Linked DNA regions of Homo sapiens: region 1 is linked to region 2. Evidence: promoter capture Hi-C in 16 types of primary human blood cells and fetal thymus (Javierre and others, 2016). All regions are on one chromosome and are shown on one strand. The core of a region is centred on a gene start or on the middle of the fragment in contact, and the rest is flanking DNA. Distances in the headings are between cores, read along the strand shown.

What was found. Contacts are between HindIII fragments. The CHiCAGO score rates a contact against its expected background, and 5 or more counts as called.
Region 1: a contact is called between a fragment that was not itself captured here and the fragment with the promoter of LYRM9 in region 2, in 1 of 17 cell types (megakaryocytes). The highest score is 5.2, in megakaryocytes.

The regions. Positions count from the first base shown.
Region 1 is chr17:27,943,302-27,948,607 of GRCh38, reverse strand. All of the region lies in intron 2 of LINC01992 (long intergenic non-protein coding RNA 1992), which reads left to right. Among named protein-coding and RNA genes, the nearest start is that of LINC01992, 46 kb to the left of the region's middle. RefSeq lists enhancers at 3,222-3,281, 3,332-3,391. The HindIII fragment of the contact is 4,829 bases long and covers 1,398-5,306 here.
Region 2 is chr17:27,888,635-27,894,708 of GRCh38, reverse strand. LYRM9 (LYR motif containing 9) reads left to right here and starts at 1,344. Exons shown (of 4, transcript NM_001076680.3): 1 at 1,344-1,392. RefSeq lists a silencer at 1,163-1,712 and enhancers at 4,723-5,674, 5,675-6,074. The HindIII fragment of the contact is 2,313 bases long and covers 112-2,424 here.

The DNA of each region.
Region 1 (5,306 bases), core at 2,563-5,062, 51 kb before region 2:
ATTTTACATATCTCTATATATGTATGTATATATATAGACTTAAAAATACCTCTAAAAGGGTACACAAAAAACTCTAGTAATTGTCTATGAGGAGAATGGAGGGTCAGGTAGGAAAGGAAACCTAGTTTTCTTTTTTTTTTTTTTTGAGACGGAGTCTCACTCTGTTGCCCAGGCTGGAGTGCAGTGGCGCGATCTCAGCTCACTGCAAGCTCCGCCTCCCGGGTTCACGCCATTCTCCCATTCTCCTGCCTCAGCCTCCTGAGTAGCTGGGACTACAGGCGCCCGCCACGACTCCCGGCTAATTTTTTGTATTTTTAGTAGAGACGGGGTTTCACCGTGTTAGGATGGTCTCGATCTCCTGACCTTGTGATCCACCCGCCTCGGCATCCCAAAGTACTGGGATTACAAGCCCACCGCGCCCAGCCTCTAGTTTTCATTTATACTCATATGTGGGGTTGTAATTTTCTTTATTATGTGTGTTTATTCACATAATTACATTCATACAATTTTTAAAATTAAGGTGGAATTCACATAACATAAAATTAACCATTTTAAAGTGAACAATTTAATTAATTTAATGACATTTAGTACCTTCACAGTATCGTGCAACCTCTATCCAATTCTAAAGCATTTCCATGATTCCAATGCAAACCCCTTATCAAGCAGTTTCTCCCCATTACTCTCTCTCCCCAGCTCCAGCAAACAACCAATCTCCATTCTATTTCTGTGAATTTGTCTATTCTGGATATTTCATATAAATGAAATCATATAGTACATAATCTTTTGTGTCTGGCTGCTTTCACTTAGCATAAAGTTTTTGAGGTTTATCCACGATCTAGCATGTATCAGTACTTCATTCCTTTTTATGGCTGAATAATATTCTGCTATATATGCCACAATTTGTTAAGCCACTCGTCTGTTGATGGACATTTGGACTGTTTCCACCTTTTGGCTATTGTGGATGCTGCTGTAATAAACATTCCTGGAGAGGTACTGGGTTGGGTATTAGTTTTCAGTTCTTTTGAGTGTATACCTAGCAGTGTAATTGCTGGATCATATAGTAATTCTATGTTTAATTTCTGAGGAATCACCATGCTGTTTTCCACTGCACCTGAAACATTTTATATTCCAATTAATACAATCTTAAAGGTTCCAAAGGTGTTGGGTAAAAAGAGGAAAAAAATAAACTATTAAACTTCTGTTTCCAAAATTGGAAAACTTTAATCATTTCCCTAACATCTAAGCAGGCACTTGGGCACACTTCCTGGCTGGATCCTGCTTGCTACACTAGCACAAAGAGAAGGGGCTGGCTGCTCACCCTCCTCCTGCCCCCTCTCACTTGCCCTCCACATACGTAGTCACTTGTAACTTATTGTTACTGACTTTGAATGGAAGCTTTCAGCTGCTCCATCCTTCCTCTGTTGGTTGAAGGGCTGTCAATGGGATGGGAATTACAACCGTAGCTGCTGTTATCTGTGTCGTATGGCTGGCTGTGTATTACTGGCTGCACTTGCCAGGGAATTAATCCCCTAAGTGTGGATGGCAAATGATGAAAACCTGGCACATAAATAAGGAGACAGGCAGCGCTCCACTGACATGCCTTGGGAAGTGATCAGCTTGTCCCTGTGCACCATACTCAATGTCTCCAAGCTCAAGGGCCATTCATCCGCAGGGAAACAGCCAGACTTTCATTCATTCATTCAATGAACATTTATGGAATAGAGCACCTATTCTGTGCAGCACCGTTCTAGACATTTTTATGAGTTGTATTGTGTAAGACTTACAATAGAAAGATATTATTGTCCTCAGTTCAAAATGAGGAAGTGGAGATTCAGAGAAATTAATAAATTTTCCCATCATCACACAGCTAGTATGTAGTGGAACCAGGACTTGGACTGAATTCCCTAGGGCCTCCCTCTCTGTCTCACTTCCTTCTACACTTATTTACAGCAAGCTGTATGTGCCAGGCACCCATGGTAGGCACTGAGGATATCATAGTGAACCAGACAGACTGGTGTAAACTGTTCCCTGTTGCTTTTCCATTGTGTCCTATGACTCCTGGGCATCATCTCAAACCTACTCGATTTCTTCTCAAATGTTCCTTCTTACATAATGACCAATGCAGCACAGTCCAAAGAGCTGTGAGGTTGAAGATGAATTAAATTCAGGCCCTGGGTTCATGCCTCTTTGAATATAGACCTAAAATCTCATGGTTCCAAGATGTGATTAGCAAATTTCATCATGCCCCTCTTGCTCCAAAACCTCCCATGGCCCAGGGCCTACAAACATTTCTGTGACATGAAAAATGGTAAAGACTCAAGTGGGGCTCTCCATGGGAGCTGAACCATGCACAAAGGTTGAGGAGAGCATTTTAAAAAGTGCTTTTCTGTGCATAATGCGAAATTCATGGATAGAGAGGCATCAGCTAGGCGTCAGACCATGGAGGGAGGCATTTCTCCAAACTGAGAAACAAGGCAAGGCTTCAAGACTGAAAGACCATGACTAAGAAAAAAAAAGTCTGAAAGACCAGCTGTCCCTAGAAGATGCTGTCAAGACCCACACACATCCAGTTCATTTGTGTACGGCACCCAGGCCCTCCGTTTATCATCTTTGGTTCAGGTTTTGCATATTCGGGTAAGTTTGTGCTTAGGTTATGCAAGTAAACATATGCTGAGAGGTAGCAATGTTTATTTCAGTGGAAGCATTTATTTTAATAGCTTTATAAATCACACCAGGATTGCATTTATAGCATCATTAAGGAACTGAAGGGGTCACTTAAATGCTTAAGTTAGACTTTGCTGCTGCACTTTATGGGAGACATTATATGCTGTCAAAGGCAGAAGGATAAGAAGCTAGGTCCCACCTTCCTGTTCCCCCTACACTCCATATCCCCAAATACCTAGATTTTAAAATGAAGAGTTATAGACAGTGAACAGAAAGACTTTAGTAGTGTCCTTGTATCATTGCCAGTCTCCTCTTGAGGACTAAAAACTTCAGGATTTGGAGTCTAGAGACCCACAATCTGGGCTTTATACACCATCTATATAGGGCAGGGGTCCCCAACCCCTGAGGGACCAGTACCAGTCCATGGCTTGTTAGGAACCAGGCTGCAGAGCAGGAGCTGAGTGGAGGGCAGGCGAGCATGACCACCTGAGCTCTGCCTCCTGTCAGAGCAGCGGCGTCATTAGAGTCTCGTAGGAGCGGAAACCCTACTGTGAACTGCACATGGGAGGGATCTAGTTTGCGTGCTCCTTATGAGAATCTAACTAATGTCTGATGATCTGAAGTGGAACAGTTTCAGCCCAAAACCATTTCCCCCCTGCCCCTTGTCCATGAAAAAATTGTCTTCCACAAAACTGGTCCCTGGTGTCAAACAGGTTGGGGACTGCTGGTGTAAGGGACTTTGGAAAAAATCACTTGAACTTCCTGGGCCCATTTCCTCGATTGTAAAAAACAAAATGAAACAAAACAAAACAAAACAAAGCAAAATGGGAACTATAACAACCACAAGGCTGTGGCTTTGTAAACAATGTAACAAGACCCCATCTCCACACACACAAAATTAACAATTAGCCAGGTGTGGTGATGCATGCCTGTTACGGCTTTTGTAATTCCCCAACCTCACTCCAGAGACTGCTGCTGGGTTTAGGGCTGAGATGAACAGGGGCCTCTGAAGGGAAGTGTATTTGTTTCCTGTGGCCGCCATAACAAATGACCACATACTGGAAGGCTTGACATAATGGAAACGTGTTGTCTCATAGCTCTGAAGGCCAGAAGTTTGGAATCAAGGTGTCAGCAGGGCTGGTTCTTTCTGGAGGCTCCGAGGGAGAATCTGTTCCCTGTGTATCTCCTCGCTTCTGTGGCTCTGCAATCCAATCCTGGCATGCTGTGGCTTGCAGATGTATCCCTCTGATCTCTACACCCTGTCTTCATGTGGTTTTCCCCCTGTGTCTCTTTGTCTCCAATTTCTCCTTTCTTTTATAAGGACACTAGTCATTGCATTTAGACGCACCCTAAATCCCGGATAATCTCATCTTCAGATCCTTACCTTAATCACATCTGCAAAGATTCTACTTCCAGATAAGATCACATTCACAGGTACCAGGGGTTAGGACTCAATTTCACCCACTATAGGCAAGAACATGTAAATCCTATCTAAGAGAGGAGGCTAAAATTCATGGCAAGAATGAGGATCTGGACCAGATTAATTAGGGTGGGAGGTAAGGGATGAATATGAGGGGCAGGAGGACTGGCTTTCACGTGGTACTATCCATGGTGTGTGTTGGCGGGGCGGGGTGGGGGACAGAACTAGCAGTTACAAAAAGCCGAACTGAACCACCCACCACTTGTCTCATGCCAAAATAGGAGCTGAAAATTTAGTAGTGGCCAGGCACCATGGCTCATGCCTGTAATCCCAGCACTTTGGGAGGCCAAGGTGGTGGGAGGATCCTTGAGGAACTCCCAGTAGTTCGAGACCAGCCTGGACAATGTAACAAGACCCCATCTCCACACAAAAAAATTACAAATTAGCCAGGTGTGGTGATGCATGCCTGTAGTCCCAGCTACTTGGGAGGCTGGGGCAGGAGGATGGCTTGAGCCCAGGAGTTCAAGGTTGCAGTGAACTATGATTGTGCTACTGCTCTCTACTGGTATTTGTTACTCTTCCAGAGATATTTTTAAGGGCAAGAACTCTGAAGTCAGACTGTCGCGTGCAAACCCAGGCTGTTTGGCTGTCTTAGTCCATTTTGGTGCTACAACAGAATATTTGGGATGGACTAATTTATAAAGAATGGAAATTTATTTCTCACAGTTCTAGAGGCTGGGAAGTCCAAGATCAAGGTGCCAGCATCTTGTGAGGATCCTCTTGCTGTATCATCCCATGGAGGAAGGCAAGAGGATAAGAGAGAGAAAAAAGGGGAAAACTGGACCTTTTATAAGAACCCACTCCTTTGATAATGGCATTAATCCATTCTTGAGAGCGGAGTGCTCATGGCCTAATCACCTCTTAGTGGTCTCACCTCTTAATGCCATCACAATGGCAATTAAATGGCAACATGAGTTTGGGAGGGGACAAATATTTAAACCATAGCAATGACTTTGGGTAAATCACTATGCCTAACTTAGGTTGAGTTCCTTAAAAAGAGCCTGAGACAAGATTCCAACGCACTTGATTTATTGAGGGAGTGCTTTTGGGAGAAAAGGGGCAAGGAAAGCAGGATAGAGGTAGCAAATGGATCTAAGCAAGAATGTAATCCCAGCTAGAGTCTAGCTTTTGCTTGACTCCACCGCAAAAAAATTTGGAGGGA
Region 2 (6,074 bases), core at 95-2,594:
AGACTACAGAACAGACTGTGAAATTTCTTAAAATTATTAAATGATCCTAAGACTGAGCACAGGAGTGGATGATGTTACTGCAGATTGTTCTTAATAAGGGCTTTAAAAGCTTAATGATTTATTGATTGGCTCTGCATTAATGACGTGCCCTTGATTATGCATGTGTAAATAAGAGGGCTGATTTATGAGGGTACAATTGTATCTTTCAGATATATTTGTCCAAGTCTACATCTTTAAAATAAATGGAAGCAATTATCTGAATATTTCAAGGGAGGGAACCCCACCTTCCCATCCCCCACCCCCGATTTGAGGGAAGTCTAGTATGTTAGGTGAAGAGAAAAAAAAAGAAAAGAGGAAGCTCTAAAGGGAGTTAGGAACAAAACAAAACTTCCGTTAAGAAATATCCCTGCTTCTCTTATCCTAAGAGAAGAAAAACAGATTCCCAGGTGCCACCGGGGAGCAATGTTTTACTTAAAAAAAAAAAAAGAAAAAGGAAAAAGAAAAACCTGTAAGAAGTTGTCCTGTTAAATCAACGACACATGGAGTCTGAAGGAAATCAGCCTTTTCGTTACAAACAGGTTTAAAAAGCCCTGGAGAAGAGAGACGTGAACAGAAGCAATATTATCCACTAACAACCTAACTCCCGCTTAGACATCAGCTGAGAGATCAGCAGCATCATTGAACAGGGGGGTTTGTCTTAAGATAATGACTCATCTTGATTTCTTTCAGGATATAAAACTTGTATTTAAATCAATTCAGAGAAGCACTTGAGCTTTAAACATTAGAGAGCAGGGAGAGCCTATTTAATAAACAGCATTATTTCATTTTCAAAGAATGATACTGGCAGTAGCTCTAAGTTTAAATTTTGTATTATTTTCCTCAATTATAATTATAGATGGGTCTGAAAGGAAGCATGCTTATTACTGTCATATTTATTCTTTTGACAGGTGTTATGGGACTGTAATTTGGTGAAATGATTCAAAACGCAGATTCCTATCCAAACACAATTCTTGTCATCAACACGAGAGGTTCAGGAAAAGTCCTCCAGCAAGCCTTTCAGAGATCTTGAACACCCCATATTCATAGCACAATCCATATTCAGGAATAAGGAGGAGAGAGTGCCTTTAGGGCTTATATCCGGCGTAGCAACAGCCAGAAGGCAGAGTGGGTGTTTGAGGTAACAGGTAACGAAGGCTGTTAGTGGGGACAGCTTTCAACTGGGTGGGGTCGGATCTAGGAAGAGGCACCCAGTAGGACCCCGAGTCCCGCGCGCGGCCGGCAGAGGGCGCTGGGCTCACCGTCGCCGGGCAGGGGCGGTGCCGCTCAGTCCCCGGGGCGCAGGCGCACTCGTCGCCGCGGCGGCGTCCGGGGCTGGCGTTCCCCTGGAGGCTGGTGAGCCGCGCTGCGCAGGCCGAGGCCGAGGGCGGGGGCGCGGGGGCAGCGGCGGCCGGAGCCACTGGGTGGCGGGGGCGGGCTAGGGATGTGGAGGCCTCGGGTGTCCTCGGATCTATTGAAGACCTAGGGGCGACCCGCGCCGGCACCTTTTCCCTTGCGGTCTGCGCTCTTCCACCGGAGAGCTGAGTGCACCGGAGCGCGGCGCCCGGGCTTGACGCAGGCCTGGCCGGGCGGCCTCGGAGGAGCAGGAAAGGCCTGCAGCGCGAGCTAGGGGCGCGAGGTCCGGGGCAGCCCGGAGGCCAGCCTCTCAGAGGCTCACGGGCCTGGCCACTTTTAAAAGGAGAATGTCCCCTCCACCGTCCCTCTGCCCGCGGCACCCGGTGGCCGGAGCAACCTTGTCGTGATGATTTATGCTTCTGCGTAAGAGCAAGTTGCTCCGTGGCCAAAACCCTTTCGCTCCTAGGATTGATCCTTTTTGTGGTTATTGTTTTAAAAAGTTTTATTGAGATATAATTCACGAAGCATACAGTTCACCCATCTAAAGTGCACAATTCAGTGTCTTTTAGTGTGTTTGCAGAGTTGTGCAGCTGTCACCATAATGTTTTAGAACATTACCCCCCAAAAGAAACACCTCCTTTAGCTGTCACTCCCCCCTCCCATCTACTCCCATTCTCCCAGCCCTAGGCAACCACCAATGTACTTCTGTCTCTGTACTTTTGCCTATTCTGGATGTTTCGTATAAATGGAATCATACATTAAGTAGCCCCTTGTGACTGGGTTTGTTCACTTAGCGTAATGTTTTCTGGGTTCACCTGCCATAGGTTCTTGACTTCAGGACAGTTTCCTGCTGGCTTTAGTTTCCTCTGGTAACTTGGGAATCAATTGACATCTATGGAACTTCTGTTATGGTTCAGGTACTATAAACTGTGGAGGAGTGACTAATAACCGTATATATATTTTTCTTACTAATTTCCCTTCATTTCACAGGTGTTGAACTAATACAGTATAGTTTCTTGTTCTTCAGAAGCTTACAGTCAGCAAGGAACAGAAAGCCAAATAAAGTAGGAAAGGGTAAGATGTTCAACGCTGGGCGCAGTGGCTCATGCCCATAATCTCAGCACCGTAGGAGGCTGAGGAAAGAGGATCACTTGAGCCTAGAATTTTGAGACCAGCCTGGGCAACATAGTAAGACTTCGTTTCTATAAATAATTAAAAAAATTAGCCAGACGTGGTGGCGTGTGCCTGTGATCCCGGCCACTTGAGAGGCTGAGGTAGAATCGTTTGAGCCCGGGCAGTTGTGACTGCAGTGATCCCTGATCATGCTACTGTACTCCAGCCTGGGTGACAGAGTGAGACCCTGTCTCAGGACAAAAAAAAAAAAAAAAAGATGTTCAAGCACTTAAGATGTGCCAGCCCCTGTGCTAGGCACTTTCCATAAGTTAGCTAGGTTGGTCTTTACAAAACCCCTGTGAGGTGGGTTATTCTTTTCTCCAGTTTACAGTGGGGGAAGCAGAAGTCCAGAGAAGTCAACCAGGTTGGCCAGGATTACACAGCTAGTAGATAGCAGAGGTAGGCTTTTAAACTAGGGTTCTTTGTCTCCAAAACCTGCTCTAAGTTCTGTCACATCGATTATAATCACAATAAGTGATTACAGAGCAGTGTGATGACTGTAATAGGGGTGTGAACAGCATGGGATGAAAGCCTGAAGGAGGTGACAGGGAACTGGATCTCTAAGGATGAAGGGGAATTCTTGAGGCAGGTGAAGAAGTCAAGGTAGGGGAAAGCACAGCATGTTTCAGAGATGGTATTAACAATAACAGTTAGTAGGAAACATGTAGTGTGTGCCAGGCATCATGCTTAGTAGTCTAGGAGCGTTATTTCATCCTTACAACAGTCCTATGTAGGAAATACTATTTATTAGGGACCGCATTGACAGATGGGGAACAGACTTCGAGATAGAAGTTAAGAAACTCGTCCAGGGTCCTAGAACTAGCAGGTGATAGAACCAGGATTTGAACCCAGACTGTCTGATCCCAGAGTCCTCCAAGTTCAGTCTGTGGCTAAAATGCAGGAAGTGTGGGAAGGACAGCAGGAGGGGAGACTGATGAGAGGGATTGAAACAGATCTCAGAAGGCCATGGGTAGAGAACTCTCTACAGAGGTTCTGAGGAAGGGGAGTGACAGGGTGTGCTTTTTAGGAAGTGTTCTTGGGTGGCACCATGTGGATTGGGCTGGAAGGAGGGAGACAGATCAGGAGGTATTCGGATAGTCCCAGCCAGGTATGGGTACAAAGCTGGGAACCAAGGTAATGCCAACAGGGATGAAGGGGGCAGGGAGGGGGTGAGGGGACTTTAGAGCCTTGGCTATGTAGGAGAGGGACTGGGGGAGGCAGGGATTGCTGCCCCATTGCTAGCTTGGGAGAACACAGATGTGCAAGATGGAGCCCTGGAGTGGGTGGGGGTGGGAAGCAAAACCACTCCATTCCTATTTTTCAACTTTTCCCTTCAAGAAGAGTAATTGCATATTTAAAAAATGGCCTGTGCAGGCTTAATTTAGCGTGTATCAGTGCTCAATAGGGCATAATTTCTGGTTATTTTCTGCAGTTCCATTCTTTCGTCTTTTTTTAATATATGACTTTTTCCCACTTATTTTTAGGTGCCTATATCGGGACATAGATTAGGGAAAAGGACAGTGGGGTTAAATGGGACTGTGGGCCTGCTTCTCAACATCTGTGCCAGTGATAACACTTGGCTTCCAGGAAATTCCCTTTGTAGCTTTATTTTCTCTTTTTAAAAATTCTGTCATATTCTCCTTTGGATTTGGTAAGAGCTTTGTTGTTAAGCATTTCTTTAGTTGCTCCTTTCCTTTATCTGTGTAATTGATGTCAGCCTGGTGACTCTTTCTTTCTTTTGATTTTTTTTTTCCATCTATATGCAGGGGGAAGCTGCAGACGATGTCCTTGGGTTTCAGAAAGGCATGGAGCAAGGTTTTGTAGAGAAGATTGAGGAGTACTGGATAATAGTGCAGTCAAGTGCCTTTATAAGTGCTTGAACCTGGTCATGCATGAACCCTGCCAGAGTTCTTTGTGGGGTCCTTAGCCCTGATCTGGTCAGTATTTTTATGAGTGGCTCAGACATAGCAGGTAGATTCACGAAGCAGATAAGGGCATAGTCTTTGGAATCAAATAGACCTAGGTTCTATTCCGGGCCTTGCTCTATACTAGCCTTGTTGCTCTTGGCAAATTACTTAACCTCTCAGGGCCTCAGTTTCCTCATCTATAAAATGGGACTAATGATACCTCCCTTAAAATATTGTTGTGAGGATTAAATGAGGTAACATGAAAAGCTCTCAAACTTGGCATGTCCTACTCATTCCCTGGATGGGAGCCATCGGCTTTGCAGAAGGCTCTGGGTCAGAGAGCTAGGTACACCAGACTGTTCATCTCTGTGGTCCTAGGGCTGGGTCCAGAGTTGTACAGGTGCTAGATGCTCTGAATGGCATGGCGTAGTTGACTGATGCTTACAGTATATAGGGTTACTGTCTTTCTCTTTGTCTTTACCCTGTGTTTACCTGGGGTGTGACTGTTTCTGTGCTCTTATTTTGTTGAATTGAGTTGATATAACAGACCCCCCTAAGGATGGTGGCAGATTGTGACTCTGGAATGACCTCATAAAATAAAAGATGGGGAAAGAGACTTAAGAACAGCTCATGGAGCCGGGTGCAGTGGCTCACACCTATAATCACAGCACTTTGGGAGGCCAAGGCAGGTGGATCACCTGAGGTCAGGAGTTTGAGACTGGCCGACATGGCGAAACTCCGTCTCTACTAAAAATAGAAAAATTAGCCGGGCATCGTGGCATGGACATGTAATCCCAGCTACTGGGGAGGCTGAGGCAGGAGAATTGCTTGAACCCGGGAGGCAGAGGTTGCAGTGAGCCAAGATTGCGCCATTGCACTACAGCCTGGGGAACGAGAGCGAAATGCCGTCTCAAAAAAAAAAAAAGAAAAAAGAAAAAAAGAGCAGCACATGGAAAAATGCCTTTGAGCCAAATGCCAGGGCCACGTGAGGGCCCCAGCAGAGAAGCAGTCTGAGCTGCATTCCTTGAATTCCCAGGTCAAAGGAGGTGACAGGGCCACTGCCTGTGGAGTTGGTCAGAGCATGGCCAAACTGTTGTTTTCCCATGGGACAGCAGGTTTAAGAGTGGTATCAAAAATAAAGGTACGTGTGTTGAGAGGAGGGCAAGTGGGACAGAGACACTTTGAGAGGCGACAGCACCTCCCCGCTGCTTACATTGGAAAAGGGACTAGGGAGGGGCTGGGATAGTTGACTGTGAATAATGAAAAGCTGGGCTTGGGAGGAGGTGAGGGAAGATTTTGTCCCAAAGAGTAGAGCTCTTTGTGGAGTGAGTAGAACTTTACAGCGGGGAATTTTAACTCAGAACTGGAGGGACTTTCCAATAGCTTGAGCAGAGCGAAAATGGGGGACTTGTGAGTTTCCTGCCACTTGGAGCACATGTAGGGAGAAAAGCTGGGTGACTTCCTGCCAGGTGTGTTTTTAAAGCGATTTTTTATTAGGAAAATTTTCCAAATATATGGAAGTTAAAATAACAGCATGGTGTTCACCCTTAATGCCTACCATCTAAACGTGATCTGAACATTCTGCTGCATTTCTTCATCTTC